Regions from separate parts of the Homo sapiens genome. Here region 2 is linked to region 1. The links are contacts of gene promoters, found by promoter capture Hi-C in human tissues and cell types (Jung and others, 2019). All regions are on one chromosome and are shown on one strand. The core of a region is centred on a gene start or on the middle of the fragment in contact, and the rest is flanking DNA. Distances in the headings are between cores, read along the strand shown. Region 1 holds the start of FZD7 (frizzled class receptor 7). Region 2 holds the start of CYP20A1 (cytochrome P450 family 20 subfamily A member 1).

Region 1 (5,978 bases), core at 901-3,400:
TGGTGCGGATACGGAAGAGGGACACGAAGCCGGCCAGCAAGAAGGACGTGCCTATGAAGAGGTAGACGAACAGAGGCGCCAGCACGAAGCCCCGCAGCGCGTCCACACTGGAGAGGCCAACGTAGCACACCCCGCTCAGCAGGTCCCCGTCTACCTGGCCCATGGCCAGGATAGTGATGGTCTTGACGGCGGGCACGGCCCACGCGGCCAGGTGGAAGTACTGCGAGTTGGCCTCGATGGCCTCGTGGCCCCACTTCATGCCGGCCGCCAGGAACCAAGTGAGAGACAGAATGACCCACCAGATGGAGCTGGCCATGCCGAAGAAGTAGAGCACCATGAAGAGGATGGTGCAGCCCTCCTTCTTGGTGCCCTGCGCCACCGTGCGGTAGCCATCGTCCGAGAAGCGCTCCACGCACACGGCGCGGTCCTCTAGAAGGAAGCCGGCCACGTGCGCCACGGCCACCATGAAGTAGCAGCCCGACAGGAAGATGATGGGCCGCTCTGGGTAGCTGAAGCGCCGCATGTCCACCAGGTAGGTGAGAACGGTAAAGAGCGTCGAGGCGCAGCACAGCACGGACCACACGCCCACCCAGAGGCGGGCGAAGCGCCTCTCCTCCTCCTTAAAGTACATCAGGCCGTTGGCACGGCCCGGTTCGCACGGGGCGCCACAATCGCGCTCACCCAGGAAGCGGTAGCCCAGGTACGGGGGCACCTTGAGCTGACGGGGGCATGAGAAGGGGAAGGCGGGACGCCCCCTGCCATCTGAGGCCCCCGGGGGCAGCGCGGTGAAGGGCAGGTCCGGCAGGTAGGGCGCGGTAGGGTAGGCAGTGGGGCCGCCGCCTGGGCCCCCGGAGCCGTCCGACGTGTTCTGGCCCACGCAGATCTCGCCCGCACCGTGCACCGGGAAGTTCTCGCAGCGCAGCCGCTCGGGCCACTGGAAGCCGAACTTGTTCATGAGCGCCTCGCAGCCCTGGCGGGCGCGCTCGCACAGAGAACGACACGGCGGGATGGCCTGATCGAGCACGGTGCACACGGGCGCATACATGGAGCATAAGAAAAAGCGGAGTTCGGGAGAACACTGCACCTTCACCAGCGGGTAGAACTGGTGCACCTCGAGGCCCGCGTCCTCTTGGTTCGTGTGGCCCAGCAGGTTGGGCAGGATGGTCTGGTTGTAGGCGATGTCCGTGCACAGCGGGATGGAGATGGGCTGGCAGAAGCCGTGGTCCGGCACGGAGATGCCCTTCTCTCCGTGGTACGGCTGCGCCCCGGCGCCCGCGGACAGTGCGCCCAGCAGCGCCAGCACCAGGGCACAGAGGCCCAGGGACGAAAGCGGAGCGGCCGCGCCGGGGTCCCGCATCGCCGGCCGCGAGTGCAGCGGTGCTCTCAGCCTGAGGAGTGCGACGAGGCGGTTGGGAGAGGCTTGGATGCGGGGAGGCGCCGCCGCGCCCGACGCATGAGAGTCCTCACGGCGCCGGGGCCGGGCCGTGGGCGGCGTGGAGCAAAGGGCGCTGCCGCCTGGGTGCCCGCGCCGCGAAGGCGCCGCAGACGCCGCCGCCCTGCACTCGCAGGGCCGCCGGGGGCCCAAAACTCGTCAGCCTGGGTTGGGGGCGCCGAGGAGGGCCGCCTCGCTCTCCCCGCGGGGACGTAACGGTGCGGCTCCCTCCGCCGCGAGGAGCAACAAGCGGCTCCGGCACCCTTCAAAGTTTGCCCAAGACTCTGGACCCCCGGCGCACCGCAGCGCGCACGCCCCCCGCGCCTGGTCCGGTCCCCGCTAGGAGAACCCCTGCCGCCGCCGCTCGCTCGCCCCGGCCGCCGCCTCCGCGGTGCTGCCCCGCCTCCTGGCCTCGAGGCTCCGCTCGTCGCCGCCTCCTTCGCCTCCTCCTCCACACCCCGCTCCTTCTTCAGCCCCAAAAGCTCGGCCCCAAGTTTCAGCCAAACGGCCGGCTCTTGCTGAGTCCGATCTCGGCCCCGGAGTCGGGAGCACGGCGAGTTCTTTTTGGAAACCCAGTCACACTGCGTCCGAAACCGCGAGGCGCTCGTGCCCGCGGCCTGGCCCCGGCCCCTCCAGCCCCTCGCAGCCCCAGCAGCGAGTCCTGGCGCCCGCCGCCGCCGCCGCCGCCGCCGCCCGCCGGGAGTGAGCGCCGACTAACGCCTCGGAGTCGCGCTGGTCGCCAGAAGAAGCGTCGGGCTCGCGGGGTTCCGGGCCGGCCCGCCCCCTCCCGTCCCCTCCCGTCCCCTCCCCTCCCCTCCCCTCCCCCCCCATTCACAAACCACTCCGGGGGCGGCCCCAGGCCCCGGCGGCCCAATGGCGGCCTTTGTTTTTTCGGTGGCCGCCTTCGGATTGGGCGGAAGTCGGAAGGGGCGGGCGCGGGAGTGGCGGAGGCGGTGTCCGCGGCGCTCTGGGCGGATTCCTGAGGGGAGGGGCGGGGGACTGGGAGGGAAAAGTTCGGAAAAACTTTTACCCTGAATTCGCTCAGGGACGAAAACGCGCAGAAAGGGAATTTGCTTCAAAGATTTGTTCCTCTTCCTGGTGCACTCAGATGCGCATTCCTGAGCAGGGGCGCCTTCGCCAGCGGCGTTTGAGGGGAGCGAGGACCGCGCAGCGCCCCTTCGGGGAGAGACGTGACCAGGAGTCGCGTTAGGACTGCAAAGGCTGGCTCTGGCGGGGCTTTCGGGTCGCCGGGTCCTCAATGTGGGGTTTGGGACGGGACGAGAAGGGGGTGCGCCTTGCGGATCGCCTCTTTCCCCCCGGACCCAAAGAGTCCACGCGAGGCCACAGTCCCCTCTCCCCTCCCCCGAGTTATAAAAAGGAGGAGGGGCCGCCTCCGAGGAGAAACCCGAGTCGGGCGGAGGGGGCCGAGTGACGGCGGGAGGAAGGACCCCTCGGAGGAAGGGCCCGAAGCAGGGAGAGCGGGGAACCCGGGCTCAGGCCACCCCGCCCGCGCGCACGGCCTGGAGTCTGGGGAACTGGGGTGACTCTAGCGAGGTTTTAAGGAAACGAAGACGGCGTTGGGGAGACTGGTTCTAGAAGTAACCTGAGACCGAGCGCCCAGGAACACTCTGTACGACGCGCCGGGCGTCTCAGTGGCCCCGTGTGCCTTGGTTCTGCGGCGTGTGCCCTTTCGGGATCCCATCTTCGTTGCAGAAGCAACCATTTGATCCTCCATTTAGAATCTGCGTAGGAATGTTTTAATGCGTCTTAGAAACCAGGCTAATTAAAGAGTTTTCAAAACACAAAGCGGGGTTATCCTCGTTCTCGGGTAGCGTTTTCTGATTGGCAAACGTTCTTTTGTTCTCGGTTAAATCTTCGTCTTGAGCCAGGCGCTGGGCGCTCGCGCGCGCTCTCTGGTTACTCCTGCGGGGGTCATAAGTCACCAGGGGGCCTCTCCCCTCTCTCCGGGCTGCCAGGAATATCAGGAATTCCCATGCAGGAAAGTGACATGTTGAGAAGGAAAAGAAAAAAATCAATCAATCAATCTCTCCTCCTCCTCCTCTTTCCTCTGTCTCTCTCTCTCTCTCTCTCACACACACACACACACACACACACACACAGCAATCCTGTGCTTTAAAAAACGTTATTCCTGGCGGAGCCCTTCTGCCTCAGTCCCGGGTGCTGGAGCTCTGAGCGATTTCTGATCAGGTTGAACCTTGGCAGAAGTTGCTGTCTCTGCTGCCTCCCGTGCGCTTCTTCTACAGCAGGAAAAAAACTCATTCTGAAATCGAAGACAATTAATTGGGTTCCCTTCCATGGGAGACTTTGGCTTTCTCTGTTTTTCTTTATTTATTTTCGATCACTGAAGATTGCTGGGAATCGTTCTTTCCGATTCACGGTTCTTTGTCCTTCCCCACTCCTGTTAATAGGTCGAAAGGGCGGAAGGAAGCCTTTGGGCCAAGGCAGAGTGTTAGACTGATCACATCCTCCATCCGGCCCTCAGCGGGAGTCGCCTTCTTCCTCCCAAGCATCAGTTTCGCCCTCCCTCCCGGACCCCCCCACCCTTTTTTTCCTTTTCTTTGGGACATGTGCTGAAGGTAATACGATACCTGCTTTAAAAATGTTTCATTCCTTCTTTGTGTTTTTAAAAGGGCCCCCCTTTTCTTTCTAAATTATTATTTCTATTACCTAACATCGGGGAGTGTTGATCTTCGGTTGAAATATGTTGCTTAAAGACAATGCTGCTGCTTTGCTTTGTCATTTAAAGTATGTGTGGTGGGGGGTTAGATTCCTTTTTTCTCTCCATGAGCTTCAGGATATCCTCCTTTTCTAAATCAAAATTTCATGCTTATTCATCAGGCCACTGATCTAAGTCATCTTTGCTTATTGAGGAAGAAATACCAAGCACTGTCATCAAATAAAATGAAAACTGACAGGATAAAATACTGTCTCAACTGCAACTAAAACCAATTTAGCTGATGAGCTTCTACTCTCCATATTATAACCCCAGACAGCTCCGATGTTAGGCAATAGGGATAATAATTTAGAAAAAAAAAACCCTTAAATACAAGGGACGAATGAAAAGCAGTCTATGCCTAAGATGCAGAAAACCCATCCCAGATGGAAAGTGTTACAGATGTGAGTCCTCTTGCTCTGTCCCAGGCAGACAAGTCCAAAAAGCAGAGAAGCAAAGCCAATTTTTAAAACAGATTGTTTTGTTTTTAAAGATTTTTAAAAAATCAATCCAAAATTATTCTCCAAAATAAGAATTTGCTGTGAGAGGGGGAGCTCTGGCTTTCCAAGCCTTGCCTGGTATAGAATGCTATGATTTTAAGGAGCCAAGTCATAGAAGATCAGAAAAAGTAAGTTCACAATGTAAGGGTCTAATCATGTTTTAGGTTCTATGACAAATGTAGTGACATCTGTTTATATTCTGTCCAGGATCATTTTAATTTTGCTTCCTAAGCAACCCCTTCCACACCCAACTCCCAAAGCCACTAACTGGTATCTTCTTGGGAGAGCCAAGGGTGGAAAATTTTGTGACTATCTGCTGCAAAATTTCCAATTGTCCCTGCCCTTTAAAATAACAAAGGCCTTTATTTCTTCACATGTAGTCATATGGTCCCACAGAAAAGTGATGCTATTCATTGGCTCCAGTTTTGCAAATGCTACTTATTTTGGCCAAGTCCCAGGTTTATCTAGTTGAATTACATTCTGATGTCAGGCCAGATTTGAAAATGGCCGTCTTCGTGTGCCCCAGTCCTGCGGTTGTAATGAAGCTCCTGCTGCAAGAATTACTCATGCAAGACTAGAAAGGGCAAATTTTAGCACATGCTTTCCTTTCTGGCCTCTCTTTTACTAGACAATTTTGACGTAATAACATGGAGAACTTGGAATTTCCAGTTGTCAGGTTGTCATTGACTTGTGTTCATTTTTGTTGGGGTGTTGGATCATTCCAAAAATGGGGATATTCTTATCCCTAAAACCCTTTCAAGGGTTATGAAAGTTAGAGATATCTAAGTTGCAGAAGAGGAGGACCATGCAATAATCATGTTAGATGTGCAGGCCGCATCTTGTAGAGATGATTTATATGGTAAATTCAGTCACTGAGTCTGACCAACACTTCCCTTGTCGATTGAGAGGGGTTTTTGTGTTTCTGTTTTTGTTTTTTGAGACAGAATCTCACCCTGCCACTCAGGCTGGAGTGAGGTAGAGTGATCATAGCTCACTGCAGCCTCGAACTCCTGGTCTTAAGTGATCCTTCTACCTCAGCTTCCAGAAAAGCTGGGACTACAGGTGAGCGTCACCACACTGGGCTAGTTGAGAGTTTTATACGTTGACTATTGTATAATCAGGGTGTTGATCAGGGCTGTGATGGCCTCAAGGCTCAATTGGAGGAGCCACTTCCAAGCTCACTCATGTGGCTGTTGGCAGGCCTCAGGCTGTCACTAGCTGTTGGCCAGAGACATCAGTTCCTTGCAATGTGGACCTCTCATAAGGCCACTCGTAATATGGCACCTTGCTTCCCTCACAGCAAAGGCTCAGA
Region 2 (5,978 bases), core at 1,092-3,591, 1.2 Mb before region 1:
GACTTTTCCCATAAACTCAAGACATATATTCAGTTACTCCTCAACATCTCCACTTGAATGTCTAACAGGCATCTCAAACCTAGCCCACCCAAAACCAACTCCTAATCTCTATAAATCCCCACTACCTCCCACCAAAACAAAACTAAAGAACAACCACCACCAGCAAAACCCCTGATCTTCCCTGGAATTAATCTATCCTTCCAGATACCAGGCTAAAAATAACTGGTGTTTTCCTTGATGCCTCTCTTTCACATTTCACATCCAATCCACTGGGAAATCCCATTGGCACTATCTTCACAATTGACTAGTTCTCATTATCTGTGCCACTACTACCATGATCCAAGCTGAAATGATAATATCCTCCTAATTACTTGGCTTGCTTCCATCCTTACCTGGAGACCCATGTCAATTCATGACTTAGCAACCACAATGATTCTTTTAAAATTTATCTAATAAAATTAAATTTGAATTCTATCCAATTTCAAATGGCATTCATCTGCTGAAATCCTCCAGTGGCACACAGCAAAAGTCCATTAAAAAAGCCTTACAAGTCATTTAAAATTTGTCCTTCACTCCCATCTTTCTGACTTTCTCTCCTCTGGTATCTTCCTCATTTACTACACTCTAACCACACTGGTCCCCTTGCTTTCCAGGAACACACCAGGCGTGTCTCCCTCTGAAGGTTTGCATTTGCTGCTCCCTCGACCCAGAATGCTCTTTCTCAGAATGGCTTGCACCTTCACCTTCTTCGCGTTTCTACTCAAATGTCTCCGTATCTCCTGGCCATCCTACTTTAAAATAACAATCTACCTATCCCCAACTTTATTTCTACCCACAATCCTATGTTATTTGTTTCTATTGTCTGTTCCCCTTCTCTAGGAAATAAATTCCAAGAGTCAGGAATTTTCTGTCCGGTTTGTTTCACGGCTGGATTCCCAGCACGTGGAACCATATCTGGCACATAGCTAGTGCTAAGAATAAACAGTGTGCTTCTATGAGCTGATCAAAGAAGAGTATCATTTTAAAATCACCAAAAATTCAAGAACCACTAAAATTGTTTAGTTTCTCAGAAAATAAGATTTCAGGAAGTCCCTGATTGTGTAGTTGCAAGATTCTAGTCTAATCCATTTACCTGCTCGGAAAAGAACATTTAAGAAGGTGTATGGTCAATTCCAGCAGTTCAGCTACTTTTCAACTTTCACTGTAAAACCACCACCTTGCTTTGTAGAACAGGTGTTTTTTGTTTGTTTGTTTGTTTGTTTTGAGATAAGAGTCTGGCTCTGTCGCCAGGCTGCAGTGCAGTGGTGCGATCTTGGCTCACTGCAAGCTCCGCCTCCCAGGTTCAAGCGATTCTCCTGCCTCAGCCTCCTGAGTAGCTGGGATTACAGGCGCCCGCCACCACAGCCAGCTAATGTTTGTATTTTTAGTAGAGACGGTGTGTCACCATGTTGGCCAGGATGGTCTCGATATCCTGACCTCGTGATCCGCCCGCCTCAGCCTCCCAAAGTGTGTAGAACAGGTTTTAAAGACGGTCCTCAGTCATCAACACTTTTGTTTTCAGACCCTCCCTCTCTCGCTGACGGAGGCAAGTGGAGAGAGGAGGACCGGAGGCTCGCAGAGGCGTCAGCGGCAGAGGAAACCTCGCACCCGAACCCGCAGCGCGGCGCTCTCCCCAAAGAAGCATTTGCCTGGAGCCCCTAAGAGGAGCAAGACCTGGACCTCGAGCACTTTGGATTCCAGTCAGGATAGATCGATGGACAGATGGAAAAGAGGAATACACAAGTGCTGGGAGAATCCTCAAGAAAGGAGAAAGGAGTGGCGCGCCCAGGAGTCTCGTCCTGACACACTGGGAAATGAAATTTGGGTTTGGCGAGTTATGGCCAAAAAGCTGCCCAAAGTACTTGAGAGCCGCCTTGGAGAGTGGCGCGGGGTGCCTGGCAAGGTGAGACCGGCCTGCGGGGGCGCGGGCTTTTCCTCAGCAGCTCTACGCCCGCCTGGCCCGGCGCCTGAGGGGTAGCGACGCAGCCCACGTCGCTCTCAGAGCTTGCCGGGAGGGGCGTCACGTGACTCCGGGTGCGGTCCCCGCGCTGAAGCTCTGGAGCGAACCCGAACCCTCCTCTCAGGCCCGCCCCCTGCGGCCCGCAGCGGGCAGGTTGGCCTGGATGCCGGCGACAGAGAGACTGGGGCGGCGCCCGGGGCCCCAGAGAGCCAAGACGGCGCTCACCGGATAGAGGTAGAGCACGGCTCCCACCAACGCCAGCAAGAAGGTAACGGCGAAGATCGCGAAGTCCAACATGGTTCTGCCGCCCAGGGAGCCACGTCTCGGATCGGCCGCTCCAGCAGCAGCGCCTCAGCCTGGCCCAATTTAAGGCATAGCGTGTGGGCGGGGGCACCCCGCGGGACCCGGAAACCAACGGGCCGCTGGGGGCGTGACCGAGGCCTGCGGCCGGCGCCAGAGGAAAGAGCAATGGATCGCCGAGGAGCCGGGGCGCGGGTTCCTGAGCGCAGCAGGCCGAGGCTGAGGCCGCCTAGCGCCAGCCTCCACCGCAAGGCGGGGATTTCGGTGCACACGATTTCAGACAGAATATGCCCGCGACTTCGGACCGGGTTGCTGGCGAAAGCAGAGCCCAGCTTTCTGAGAAAAGTTAGGAGTTAGTAGTGCTCTGTCCGCCCAACAGTTTTCGCAATGGATTCAGAATTAAAACCTCTAAACCGATGATTTTCGAAGAGTGGTCCCGGTACCAGCTGCATCAACGTCGCCCGGGAGCTCGTTAGAGATTCAGATTATCGATGCCGGGCGCGGTGGCTCCACCTGTAATCCCAGCACCTTGGGAGGCTGAAGCGGGAGGATCGCTTGAGCCCAGGAGTTTGAGACCAGCGTGGGCAACATAGTGAGACCCCAGTCTCTACAAAAAAAAAAAAAAAAAAAAAAAAAAAATTAGCCTACAGTGGTGGCGCTTGCCTGTGGCCCCAGCTGCTCCGGAGGCTGAGGCTGGAGGATCACTTTAGCCGGGGAGGCAGAGGCTACAGTGAGCCGAGATGGCACGACTGCACTCCAGCCTGGGCGACAGGGCGAGACCCTGTCTCAAAAACAAAACAAAACAAAACAAAAGGAAAACAAAATAAAAAGATTCTCGATCCCAAACTAGACCTACTGAATCAAACACTCGGGGTGGGCAGGGGTAGGGGGCGCGTACAACAATCTGTTTGAACAGAGCCCTCCCGGGGACACTGTTACACACTTAAATTTGAGTGAAAACCACCACTGATCTAAGCGGGACAGGGAAGTGTCTGGGAGTAAAACAAGAGTAGATACGCCTTGTTTCGCAGAATTTCTGTCTGAAGTACTAGTAAATGTGATTCTTTGACACTTTCTGGTGAGCGGAGGCTGCACACTGTTCAGGTTTCCTTGCTCTGTTAACTCTGACTTTCGGTAAATTGCTTCAGTTTTCTAAGCTTCCATTTCCTTCTATGTAAAAAAGTGAAAATAATACCACATGGAGTTGCCTGTAGGTTAAATTACATATTTTATGAAAATCACTTAGCACAGCTCCTGGCAAAACCGAATAAGTGCTATCTACGTCAGCATTTGGCGTTTGTTGCCCTGGGCATAAAATACCCTAGGACCCCTCTTTCTATTTCGCCTGGCTCAGAAGTTTTGACGTGGCTACTGAAATACAAGACAAGGCCTGCTACTTACTAGTGCTGCTTTTAGTGAAAGTGTGCTAAAAGTATTTATAGATTTTATAGCTTTAATAATATAAAATGTCAAGAACAGGCAGCAATTTGGCAAGAGAAATTCCAGATTGCATTTTACAGCTTCTATGATAAATGACTGTTACATAAGCAGGAAACATACCTCATTGAAAATGGCAACTCTTTTGGCATCTATAGCAAATATAATGAAACATGCTGTTTAATATTTCACTTGGCAGAAATTGTATTTTTAAGTCTTTCTCTGCATATAAATGTGCTTTAAACTGTCGTATGTTCAAAGTTCATTTTTAAGTCTCTTGTTCAGAATTTTAAAGATATTTCTTGTCAAACTGATGTTCCCAATAGGTTTTCAAAACAGTAAATGTAAGAGTTTTTTGTTTGTTTGTTTTGTTTGTTTGTTTTTGAGACGTAGTCTCCCTCTGTAGCCCAGGCTAGAGTGCAGTGACGGGATCTCGGCTCACTGCAACCTCCGCCTCCCAGGTTCAAGCAATTCTCCTGCCTCACCCTCCCGAGTAGCTGGGATTACAGGCACGCGCCACCATGCCCAGCTAATTTTTGTATTTTTAGTAGAGATGGGTTTCACCATGTTGGCCAGGCTGGTCTTTAACTCCTGACCTCGTGATTCGCCCCTCTGGGCCTCCCAAAGTGCTGAGATTACAAGCGTGAACCACCCCGCCCGGCCAAACATAAGAGTTTTAACTGCATAAGGTAGCCATATAACCGTAATCTTAGGTACCGTAATCTTAGGTACCAATCCTTCAAGATATCTAGAATTCTCTTTTAGTCCTAAATTGACCTACATCCTGAGACTCTCTGAACTTTGAGGGCTGTAAAAAAGAGACAAAAATTCCAGAAATTGTCAGGGCACCATATTTTATAGTGTGAGTCTCTAAACTAGACATCTACCTCCTCTTCCTGTGTTCCTAAAACGTTTTGCCCAGATACTCCCTAAAAGCATATATAAATAATATATATATAATATATATATACACATACACACATATATATCTTTTCACACATTTTTTGTATTGACATCTAAAATTTTTATCTTGACTTTAAAGGATTAAATTTCTGTCATATTATAAATATTCACGTTTTGAAATTGTTACAGCTCTCTTTTAAGTGTATGAAAAGGAATGTAAATATAATAGTGATGTGATAACTATAAGACTTTTTTTAAAAACACACAAACTTGGCCAGGTACGGTGGCTCCACCTGTATTCCCAGCACTTTGGGAGGCGGAGGCGGTCAGATCACTTGAGGTCAGGACTTCAAGATCAGCCTGGTCAACATGGGGAAACCCCGCCTCTACTAAAATTACAAAAATTAGCTGGGTGTGGTGGCATGCGCCTGTAATCCCAGCTTCTCAGGAGGCTGAGGCAGGAGAATCACTTGAACCCGGGAGGCAGAAGTTGCAGTGAGCCAAAATGGCGCCACTGCACTCCAGCCTGGACAAAAACAAAACCCAAAACAAAACAAAACAAAACAAAAAACCCATACACTTTTTGTGAACAACTGGAAATTTTCCATGGTTCCTTTTTCTGAACTTATTTTTATTGCACTTATCCGACAGAATTTTATTCTAATGAAATTATTTTTATCCTTGAAAGTAATTTTCTTCATCACCTGTCATACTTCTTCTCTTCAACATGTACTCATGTTGAATTAAAAAATAGTTTTTGGGGCCAGGCGTGGTGGCTCATGCCTGTAATCTCAGCACTTTGGGAGGCCGAGGCGGGCAGATCACGAGGTCAGGAGATCGAGACCATCCTGGCTAACATGGTGAAACCCTGTCTCTACTAAAAATACAAAAAAGAATTAGCTGGGCGTGGTGGTGGCGCCTGTAGTCCCAGCAACTCAGGAGGCTGAAGCAGGAGAATGGCATGAACCCGGGAGGTGGAGCTTGCAGTGAGCTGAGATCGTGCCACTGCACTCCAGGCTGGGCGACAGAGCGAGACTCCGTCTCTAAAAAAAAAAAATAGTTTTTGGGCCGCACACAATGGCTCACACCTATAATCCCAGGACTCTGGGAGACTCAGAAGTTCACTTGAGCCCAGGAGTTCAAGGTTATAGTGAGCTATGGTTGTGCTACTGCCCTCTGTCCTGGGTGACATAGTGAGACCTAGTCTCTAAAAAAAGTCTAAAAACCACAAAAGTTTTAAACTCTGTGGCTTTAAAAACTCCTACAAATGTATTTATTTTTTTTTTCTTTTTTTTTCTTTTTTTTTTTTTTTTGAGATGGAGTCTCCATCTGTCGTCCA

The links. Contacts are between HindIII fragments. The study calls those that stand out against the background at their distance.
Region 2: the fragment with the promoter of CYP20A1 here is called in contact with the fragment with the promoter of FZD7 in region 1 in 1 of the 25 tissues and cell types used here (stomach).

Annotation. Positions count from the first base shown.
Region 1 is chr2:202,030,027-202,036,004 of GRCh38, reverse strand. FZD7 (frizzled class receptor 7) reads right to left here and starts at 2,150. Exons shown (of 1, transcript NM_003507.2): 1 at 1-2,150. The coding sequence starts at 1,357. RefSeq lists enhancers at 1,109-1,228, 426-1,266 and silencers at 1,829-1,908, 2,019-2,568. The HindIII fragment of the contact is 12,054 bases long and covers 1-5,978 here.
Region 2 is chr2:203,235,381-203,241,358 of GRCh38, reverse strand. It overlaps CYP20A1 (cytochrome P450 family 20 subfamily A member 1), which reads right to left and starts at 2,341. Exons shown (of 13, transcript NM_177538.3): 1 at 2,225-2,341. The coding sequence starts at 2,296. RefSeq lists enhancers at 1,621-1,910, 1,734-2,305, 2,591-2,640 and a silencer at 2,311-2,520. The HindIII fragment of the contact is 20,829 bases long and covers 1-5,978 here.